Linked DNA regions of Homo sapiens: all the other regions are linked to region 2. The links are contacts of gene promoters, found by promoter capture Hi-C in blood cells and fetal thymus (Javierre and others, 2016). All regions are on one chromosome and are shown on one strand. Each heading gives the region's core, a stretch centred on a gene start or on the middle of the fragment in contact. The rest is flanking DNA. Distances are from core to core; before and after follow the strand shown.

Evidence for each region. The method cuts DNA at HindIII sites, captures the fragments that hold promoters and counts their contacts. A CHiCAGO score of 5 or more calls a contact.
Region 1: a fragment that was not itself captured here is called in contact with the fragment with the promoter of PROKR1 in region 2 in 1 of 17 cell types (megakaryocytes); the score reaches 5.7 in megakaryocytes.
Region 3: a contact is called between the fragment with the promoter of BMP10 here and the fragment with the promoter of PROKR1 in region 2, in 6 of 17 cell types (activated CD4 T cells, naive CD4 T cells, non-activated CD4 T cells and 3 more). The highest score is 6.8, in activated CD4 T cells.

What each region holds. Positions count from the first base shown.
Region 1 is chr2:68,498,951-68,501,806 of GRCh38, forward strand. The region is part of intron 2 of APLF (aprataxin and PNKP like factor); the gene reads left to right. Among named protein-coding and RNA genes, the nearest start is that of APLF, 33 kb to the left of the region's middle. The HindIII fragment of the contact is 2,458 bases long and covers 74-2,531 here.
Region 2 is chr2:68,641,998-68,645,122 of GRCh38, forward strand. It overlaps PROKR1 (prokineticin receptor 1), which reads left to right and starts at 1,582. Exons shown (of 3, transcript NM_138964.4): 1 at 1,582-1,851. The HindIII fragment of the contact is 2,701 bases long and covers 1-2,214 here.
Region 3 is chr2:68,870,055-68,872,888 of GRCh38, forward strand. It overlaps BMP10 (bone morphogenetic protein 10), which reads right to left and starts at 1,343. Exons shown (of 2, transcript NM_014482.3): 1 at 971-1,343. The coding sequence starts at 1,304. RefSeq lists a silencer at 1,159-1,319. The HindIII fragment of the contact is 2,140 bases long and covers 311-2,450 here.

The sequences.
Region 1 (2,856 bases), core at 53-2,552, 140 kb before region 2:
AAATTGTACTTGTGAAATATCTGGAAAATCCTATAATAATAGCCTTTCCTCAACTTATTTTGTTAAAAAAAAAAGCTTTCCAAATTAAACAAACAAACAAAACACTGAAAATAAGGTGCTTTTTGGGGGTATACATCTATCATTCTTTAGTATTTAATGATAACTCTAAGAGAAAGCTATAGGAAATTGATTTGTATTTTAGTTTCATTTTTTGCAGGGATAATGCATCCTTTGCACCACTTCTAAAGTTATAGCATGATCTGTTGAAGTTTTAATTTATAATCTCATGAATTTGTTAAAAGGCATACACCAACAATGTCTCTCATGTAGGTAGTTATATCTTTTAATCATGGTGAGGTTGGGTTTGCCAATATTTTGCCTGCTCTTGTTTGCTTTTAGAATCAAAGTTAAACTTGTCTCATTGAAGCAGTTGGGAGTCCTTAACCCTTTTGTGATATCAAGAAAAGTTTGAATATTCAGAAAAATCTTTAAATCCACTGGGGTCTTGTTTTGGGAGGGATTGAAAAGATTTTTAATTATTGATTGTACTTCTGAAATATTACAGGTCCAATTCAATCTCCTTTCTCTAATAATTAAATACTCTCAAGCCAGGTGCAGTGGCTCACACTTGTAATCCCAGCACTTTGGGAGGCCAGGGCAGGTGGATCACTTGAGGCCAGGAGTTTGAGACCAGCCTGGCCAATGTGGTGAAACCCCATTGCTACTAAAAACACAAAAATTAGCCAGTTGTGGTGGCGGGCGCCTGTAGTCCCAGCTACTCAGGGGGCTGTGGCATGAGAATTGCTTGAACCTGGAGGCAGAGGTTGTAGTGAGTAGAGATCATGCCACTGCACTCCAGCCTGGGTAACAGAGCAAGACTCTGTCTCAAAAAAAGAAAAAATAAATAAATACTTTCAAACAGGCTGCACATACATACACGTAAACATACTTTAAAAAAATCTATTTGGTGTTATTAGGTAATTGTCTCTTTTGGCCATATTTACAAATGTATTCCTATAAAGTATTTACAGTATTCTGTTATTTTTCAAAACTTTTATTTTTTGTGTAATTATGCCATTGTTTTCATTCCTAATTTTTTGGTGTGTAATCTTCCTTTTTGTTTATTAATATTGTTAGGTTTTTGTATACTTTGTAACTTTTTAAAAGCTACTTTTTGGACTTCATGTACGTATAGCATTTTAGTTGGAGTATATGTAGTTTGACATTGATTTTTTAACTTATTCAGTGAGTAATATGAATTTAGGTTTACGTTAGAGGATCAAACATTAGACTTGAGTATCATTTTTACTCTTCATTTTGGAATCTCCTGTATTAACAGTTTTAGGAAAAGGAAAAGATGATCATGGACCATACTCATGGGTTCACTTTCTTTGTGGCTGGATTTGCTGACTGCCAATATTTAACCAAGTATAATTTAAATATTAAGTGCTTTCCGCTGAGGAAAACATACTCAAACAGAATATTGCGTGATCTCTGGGTTTGTGATGCTTTTGTAAAGAAATGTAGTTTCCTTAAGTATGTTACCTTTTCCAGTCTTAAACAATGTTATGCCTTTGTATTTAACATCCTAGCCTTTGTAAGTTTGGGACCATGTCAGTATTTAACGTTGTTTAGAGACTCATCTGAAGTTTTAAAATGCTCATGAATGAGAAGAACATGGTCTTAGCCTATAATCAGAAGCAAGCGTCACTTAAAGAATATTCAGAGTTCAGACCAAAGCTATGTGGATTCCTGTTCTGACTCTTGCTTCTCCTGTTAGTTCAACATTCCTGACTCTGATGACCATGACATACTCAAGGAAAGGGAGCCTTCGCCCAAAAGGATGAGGAATACAGGGCACGATTCCCAAGTTCAGCAGCGGACACAAGCTCAGAGCCTGTCAATTTGTCATGTGCTTGTTGCACTCAAAAGCTCAACCTGCCAAGAGCCAGAGGACAGCTTTGAGAGAGAGAAATTAGGAGTGGCTGTTAGCATGGTGAAAGATTTCTAAACATTGTTTAAATTGTAACTTGAATTTAAAAATCAAACATTCACTACTCTTTTTAGGAATACAATATTGCATAAATCACACTGCATCTCCATTCTTATGCAATCTTGTGTATAGTTTGACTAATAAAATAATGGCCGACCAAATTTGTGTCATCTCTGTTTTAAATTTCTACCTCTGCTCTTTATCTCCAAGTTTTATTTTACCGCTTTCTTGTAACAGATTTAAAGGATAGAAATATGATGTATGGCCAGATTCTTATGAAATTGAATGGTCAGAACTAGGTGGATTATATTCATTCTGTCTTCAAAGATGTGTCTTTTTTGTGGTTGTTATTGCTCAGCATATGTCCATTCCCAGGGTGGTAATTACTTTGCTGTGATGTCTCCAGAGGAAGTCTCATTTAAACTGATGAAATAGATAGAAGGAAGGGTAATAGAGATCGGTGCTCTCTATAAGATTGTACTTAAAAAAAAAAAACACCAAAGATCTGCATTATGTAGATTGCTTTGTCATATCCTAAAGCTTATTTGTTTTAAAAACCCAGTGATATTATGACAAAATGCCTATTTGACTTATGGAAAGAGCCAATTTTAGCTTGAATCTAGTTAGAATTTTTAAGGCACCTCATAATAGGTCCTTTTTGTTTTTTGAAGCAACTCTTGTTATCTTTGCTAACATGGAAATAGTGGCAAACATAATATAAAATAGTGGATATTGTAATAGTTCTAACTTTGAGATCTGTTTACTACTTTGATTTGAATGTGGATGGTCTTCATAGTGGGAGTTTCATTTAAACAAATAAGACAATTCCTCTTTCAGGAGGTAGAAAGAAAGCTGTGTTGTTT
Region 2 (3,125 bases), core at 332-2,831:
TAAAGTTTATGTATTTTTATCTTTTAATTCCATTTTCCCACAAACTTTTGGAAGTTCCCATGTGAGTGTATGTGTGTATGTGGAGCATTTTGTTTGTCCCTTCATCATTGATGGACATTTGGATTGTTTCCATGTTTTCGCTATGGTGAATAATGCTGCTATGAACATGGATGTACAAACATGCCTTTGAGACCCTGTGTATTAGTTCACTTGCACACTGCTGATAAAGACATACCGGAAACTGGGAACAAAAGGAGGTTTAATTGGACTTACAGTTCCACATGACTGGGGAGGCCTCAGAATCAAGGCAGGAGGTGAAAGGCATTCCTTACGTGGTAGCATCAAGAGGAAACTGAGGGAGAAGCAAAAGTGGAAACCCCTGATAAACCCACAGGATCTCGTCAGGCTTATTCACTATCACGAGAATAGCATGGGAAAAACAGGCTCCCATGATTCAATTACCTTCCCCTGGGTCCCTCCCACAATACGTGGGAATTCTGGGAGATACAATTCAAGTTGAGATTTGGGTGGGGACACAGCCAAACCGTATCACCCTGCTTTTAATTTTTTGGGTTAGACACCCGGAAGTGGAAACACTCGATCATATGGTAATTGTATTTTTTAACTTTTTGAGGAAACCCTATACTGTTTTCTACAGTGGCTTCACCATTTTACTTTCCTACCGACAGTGCACAGGGTTCCAGTTTCTCCACATTCTCACCAACACTTGTTATCATTTCTTTTTACAGCTGGATAATATTCTATTGCATGTATATACTATATGTATTTTGTTAATCCACTTAGCTGATGGACATTTGGGTTGTTTCTGTCTTTTGGCTACTGTGAATAGTGCTGCCATGAACATCAGTGTATGTGTGTCCCTGCTTTCAATAGTTTGGGGTTACATACCTTGGAGTGGGATTGCGGGACTATATGCCTCACGTTTTGAGGAATCTATGGGCTTGTAAAGGTAGACTGTGCTCTGTAAGTCAGCGCTGTCCGTCCCAGCCTTCTAAGCAGACATCCCTGGGCGGGGGTCCTTCCTCTCTCCAGTGTGCTACCCCGCCCCCTTGTTTGCTCTCCAGAAAGCACTTCTCTGAGCCTCTTTTACGGAGAGGTAGGGCAGCTGGCAACAAAGATGGCCCTGGTGTCCGTTCAGGCTGGCCCAGGGGACCAGGTTGGGGCCGGCCCCTGAGTGTCCCCTGAGGAGGTGTGTGAGCAGCGGGGGAGGCTCCTCGGTCCTTTGCAAGCTCGCGGCTGAGCGGGGCCGTGTCCGTCCACTCCGACGGCGCTGGGCTGCCAAGGTGAGCCGCCGAGGAGCCCCGTGCCCCGAGGCGGGCACAGCCGCCCTGCATGGGTGCCCCCGGCGCGGGATTGACGCAGAGCCCTGCCCGGAGCCCCAGCGACCCCGTTCCTGCCCCAGGCGGCCGTTCCGAAGCCTGAGCCGGGCAACGCGCAGCCCGCCTGGCCCGGCTCCCTCCCGCGCGTCCTCGTCGCGAGCTGCCGCCTGGGAGCTCCAGACGCTCCCGCCCAGGGCGATCCGGACGCTCCCGCCCAGGGCGATCCCGGCCTCTGCAGCCCAGCTGGCGACACGCCTCGCCAAGAGCCCGCACCTCGGCGCCTCACGGCCACCGGAGGCGGGGACAGGGAGTCCGGCGCGGGCCGGGTCGGGGGATCTGCAGCGGCGGCGCGAAGGTAACTCCCCCGCCAGAGCCGGGAAAGAGCCCCGAGCAGAGGAGGAAGGGAGCGGGGACCTGCCCTTCGCCTGCCGGCTTCTGGAAGAAGCGTCTCCTGATCCGGCCCCGGAATAAGAAACCCGGACCTTGCCTGCCGGGCTCCGCGATGCCGCAGGTACAGAGCGCGCCCTCCCGGGGAGGATGCTCCAGGGACCCCGCGCTGCACTGGCTGCGGCCGTGGGGTGCGGCGGCTTCTGAGTGAAGAGGGGACTTTGCCAGGGATTCACTCCTGTGAGTTTCTTCAGGAGAGCCAGGCTTCCCCTCCTCTGTCCTTAGGGGAAGCTGCCCAGGCTCCAGGGAGAAAGTTGGGAGCAGGCGGGGGACTTGCCAGCAGGGGTTTGTGAGAGAGGCTTCTAGCGATCGAGAGGTCACCAGGTGGGGGTAGGATTGGGGTTCCCCTCTGAACGGTGAGAATAAAGGAGAAAAGACCTCTGGACAATCATCCTTAATCTCGTGACGCCCTCCTCTCCACCCCCGAAGCTTCTGTATTCTTTGCTTTTAAACACTACTTTGACCCTTCAGGTAGCATGCTTGTAGGGGTACCCCTCCAGGAGTGGCATGCCTCTGCGACCCACGGGACCTGCAAGGAGTGGGGCTTGTCCCGCCTGGGTTCCAAGCCTGCCCCCCTCCTTCTTTTCAGCTGAGTTCTGCCTCTCCTCCCTGAGTGGGCAGAGGGCAAGGGCTGAGCCAGACAGAATTGAGAGCTCGGAGGAAGGAAAAAATCAGGGTAAGGAGTTAGGACAGAGAGGCAGCAATGGGGCTGAGCCTCACTGGGGCGCAGAGGGACTTTAAACTTGGCCCCAAGAAGACAGGCTCCAGATGTTTTGCCTCGGAGGAATATGGAGAGCAGGCTTTCCTGGGGGTGGGGAGGTGGGGTCCTGGGCATCTTCCTCATCTTCCTTTCCCAGGAAAACTCTGGCTTGCATTCTTCCCTCTGTTCTCCTGACATTTGTTTTAGGGTGCTCTCCAGACCTCAGCCCTCCTTCTACGTCCCACTCCCTGGTCTGATGTCTTCAGGGTTTGGGAGGGACTGCAGGGAGAGAGCAGGGGACAGGGGGACTCTGGCTGCCTCCCTGTCCCCACCAGGGCAGCTGACACCCCCCTAGACCCCTCACCCCAGCCCCATTATGTGGTGTGGTGGAGTCCCTGTATCAGGATTTCGCTCCCCTTCCTTGCAGCTGACAGAGGAGGCCTGAGAGCGCAGTAGTAACTCCTTGCAGTTCTAGGGTGTAACACTCTCCTCCAGGGAGCTCCAGGCTGTGCAGACATTATTGATCTCCTGCCTGGCAGAAGTTGAACCTCTGAGTGTTTAAGCTATTTACCCCTGGACACTCAACCAGCCAAGGAAAAATTTTGCTCTAGCGTCCCCATTCTCATCACTTGGTTAGT
Region 3 (2,834 bases), core at 93-2,592, 230 kb after region 2:
GAGCTATTTCTTCACTATTACCTTTCTTCTTTCAAGAACATCTGGCCAATATTAACGGGAAGCTTCTTTTATACCTGGTTAGTGACTATAAAAGCATAACTGGCAAAAATTAAATTAGTTCCTTTGGACCTTCAGCTTCTACTATAGATATCTAGATATCAGGGGTTTTTTTTCCTACTAGGACCATATTAACCAAAAAACAAACAAACAAACAAACAAACAAAAACATTAACTTGCTAGCTCATTAGATTTAGTTACCAAATTTAAAGACCTAAGAGAAGAAAACACACTTTTCCCACCAATAATTCAAAGCTTGTACGTTGCTCTTTATAAAGACGGAAATGATGAGCTGGATGATTAATGGGCCATCTACACTTCCTGGAAACTGTAAACAGTGCTTTAAGGATGTACATGACACATCAAACAACACAGCCTTAGGAAGAATCTTTAAAATATATTTCCATCCTGTTTGAACATTTCTTAAATAAGGTCACAAAATAAAAACTTATCAAAAGTTTGAACAAAACACAAATCACAATTTGATGTTTTTTGACTGTTTTTACCCTTTTTATTCTAAGTAGAAGTTGAGAAATTTTTTAGTTAATTAAAAGCCCATATGGCAATCAAGGCCTATTTGGAAAATGACAAAGGTACGGCAGTAGACCAACATTAATTCTTTGTATTACTTGGTGTTCAAATTAACATTTTTTAAAAGGACCCAATTATGATGTCAAATTGATAGATGTTTTGTGGCTTTGGATTAAAAGATGTTTGTAAGTATTTTTCGAGGTTCCTGAAATGACTATATAATTGGTATAGAACAAAATGTGCCTTGTTTTTGTGTATCCATATGTATTTAACATCCTTATATAGATGTATTTACCCTTACCTATATCATTCCCATGCATTGTAAATTTACTTATTGTGTCTTGAAAAAAATCCTAGCAAAATTTCATCAGCAAAAACTTACCTTCATTCTTGAAACTCCTAATGATGTTGGCAGAGGGCATGGAGGTCCGATCTGTTGCAAATTTGTTGTAGAGTTCCAACATGTACTCTGGTGGGTCCACCTTGGCTGAATCCTGCGTGGGGATGTCAGAGAGGTTTAGTGTCTTAAGAAACTCATCCTTCATGCTCTGGAGCAGTGTGTTAAAGTCGACACCGTCTTGCTCTGAGAAAACATCACCAAAGAGGGACATATCTTCTTCCAGAGGAGACTGCTCTAGGTTCATGATGGGGCTGCCAGAAACCAAGTAAGCTGCCAGGCAGAAAAGAGCGCACAGTGTCAGGACCAGAGAGCCCATGACTCCGCTCGAGCTCCTAGGCCAAGCCAGGAAGGTTTAGCTTCCCTGGGCTCTAAGTGGCAGTTTTATCTTGTGGAACGTAAATGTCTCCTGTCACTGGAGACAAGTTTGGAAACTCTTCCTCTCTCTCTCCCTCCCCCTACCACTCTTCCTCTCCCCCTAAAAGTCAGGTTGCAGTAATTGGATAACAAAATCCCCTATAGGGGCCTAGCCTTTCTTATCTCCCTAGTGTAAACTTGTGCACCAGAATTTGTTTCTATCTTGCAATCCCTATTTCTTTTAATGAGCATTTTGTAAACATTTCCACATTCTGACACTGGTTGAGAGATAGGACAATTTTCTCTTTGCAAAGGCTCTGCTTCTCTTCCCTTCAATTCACTTCCTTTCAGCAGGAATGCCTAAATTCTGTTTTTATGGGGCTTAGTTTCACACATGCATATAATAGGTATAAGAATCAACATAATGCACATCAATGGTGATACATGTTAATTTGAGAGGTAGGGCTCAGATAAACACTTGTGAAGACAGACCAAATATCCAAACTTTCCAAGTTTAAGTTAATAGCTATAAATGAATTATATAAATTTTTAGAAGTGTACCTTTTTAGAAACAGGAAAGTATAAACTTCATGATTGACAGGCTTTTTCCTACCTATTTGATCTGGCTAAAATAGCATTTGAAAAATAGGGCAAGTGCTTAGTTATACTGGCAACTAGAATTTATTAGATGCTTCCTACAAACAGGCATTGTACTGAGTGCTTTACACCTATCATCAAGTGTGCTCCTGTAATAACCGTATCATTATCTCCATCACATATATGGGTCAGTGAAGTGCCATAGCTTGCCAGAGGCCACAAAGTTGCAAAGTGATGGGGCCACAATTTCAACCAAGGCAGCCTGATTCTTATGAAGAATAAAACAGTCACACTTTTAAACCACTCTTCTACCAGACTAGGGCATGGGCAATAATGCTGAGAGGCCAACACGTCCCCAGATCAGCCTGGAGGCAGGAGGCAGGCAGAAATTTGTAGCTGGATGTGGACCTCAGGTCCTCCATCTGTGCAATGAGTTGTTAATATAACCAACATCTCTGCGAAATTCATCCTTCTGACTCAATCAAAATTGTCATCAAGAGGCTCCAGCAAAAGCTTGGTGTGATGGTTAATACTTACTGTCAACTTGATTGGATTGCAGGATGCAAAGTATTGATCCCGGGTGTGTCTGTGAGGGTGTTGCCAAAGGAGATTAACATTTGAATCAGTGGGCTGGGAAAGGTAGACCCACCCTTAATCTAGCTAGGCACCATCTAATCAGCCGCCAGCACGGTTAGAATATAAAGCAGGCAGAAAAACGTGAAAAGACGAGACTGGCCTAGACTTTCAGCCTATCTTTCTCCCATGCTGGATGCTTCCTGTCCTTGAATATGGGACTCCAAGTTCTTCAGTCGGGGAACTTGGACTGGCTCTCCTCGATCCTTAGCTTGCAGACAGCCTATTGTGGGACCTTGTGATCGTGTGAGTTAATACTTAA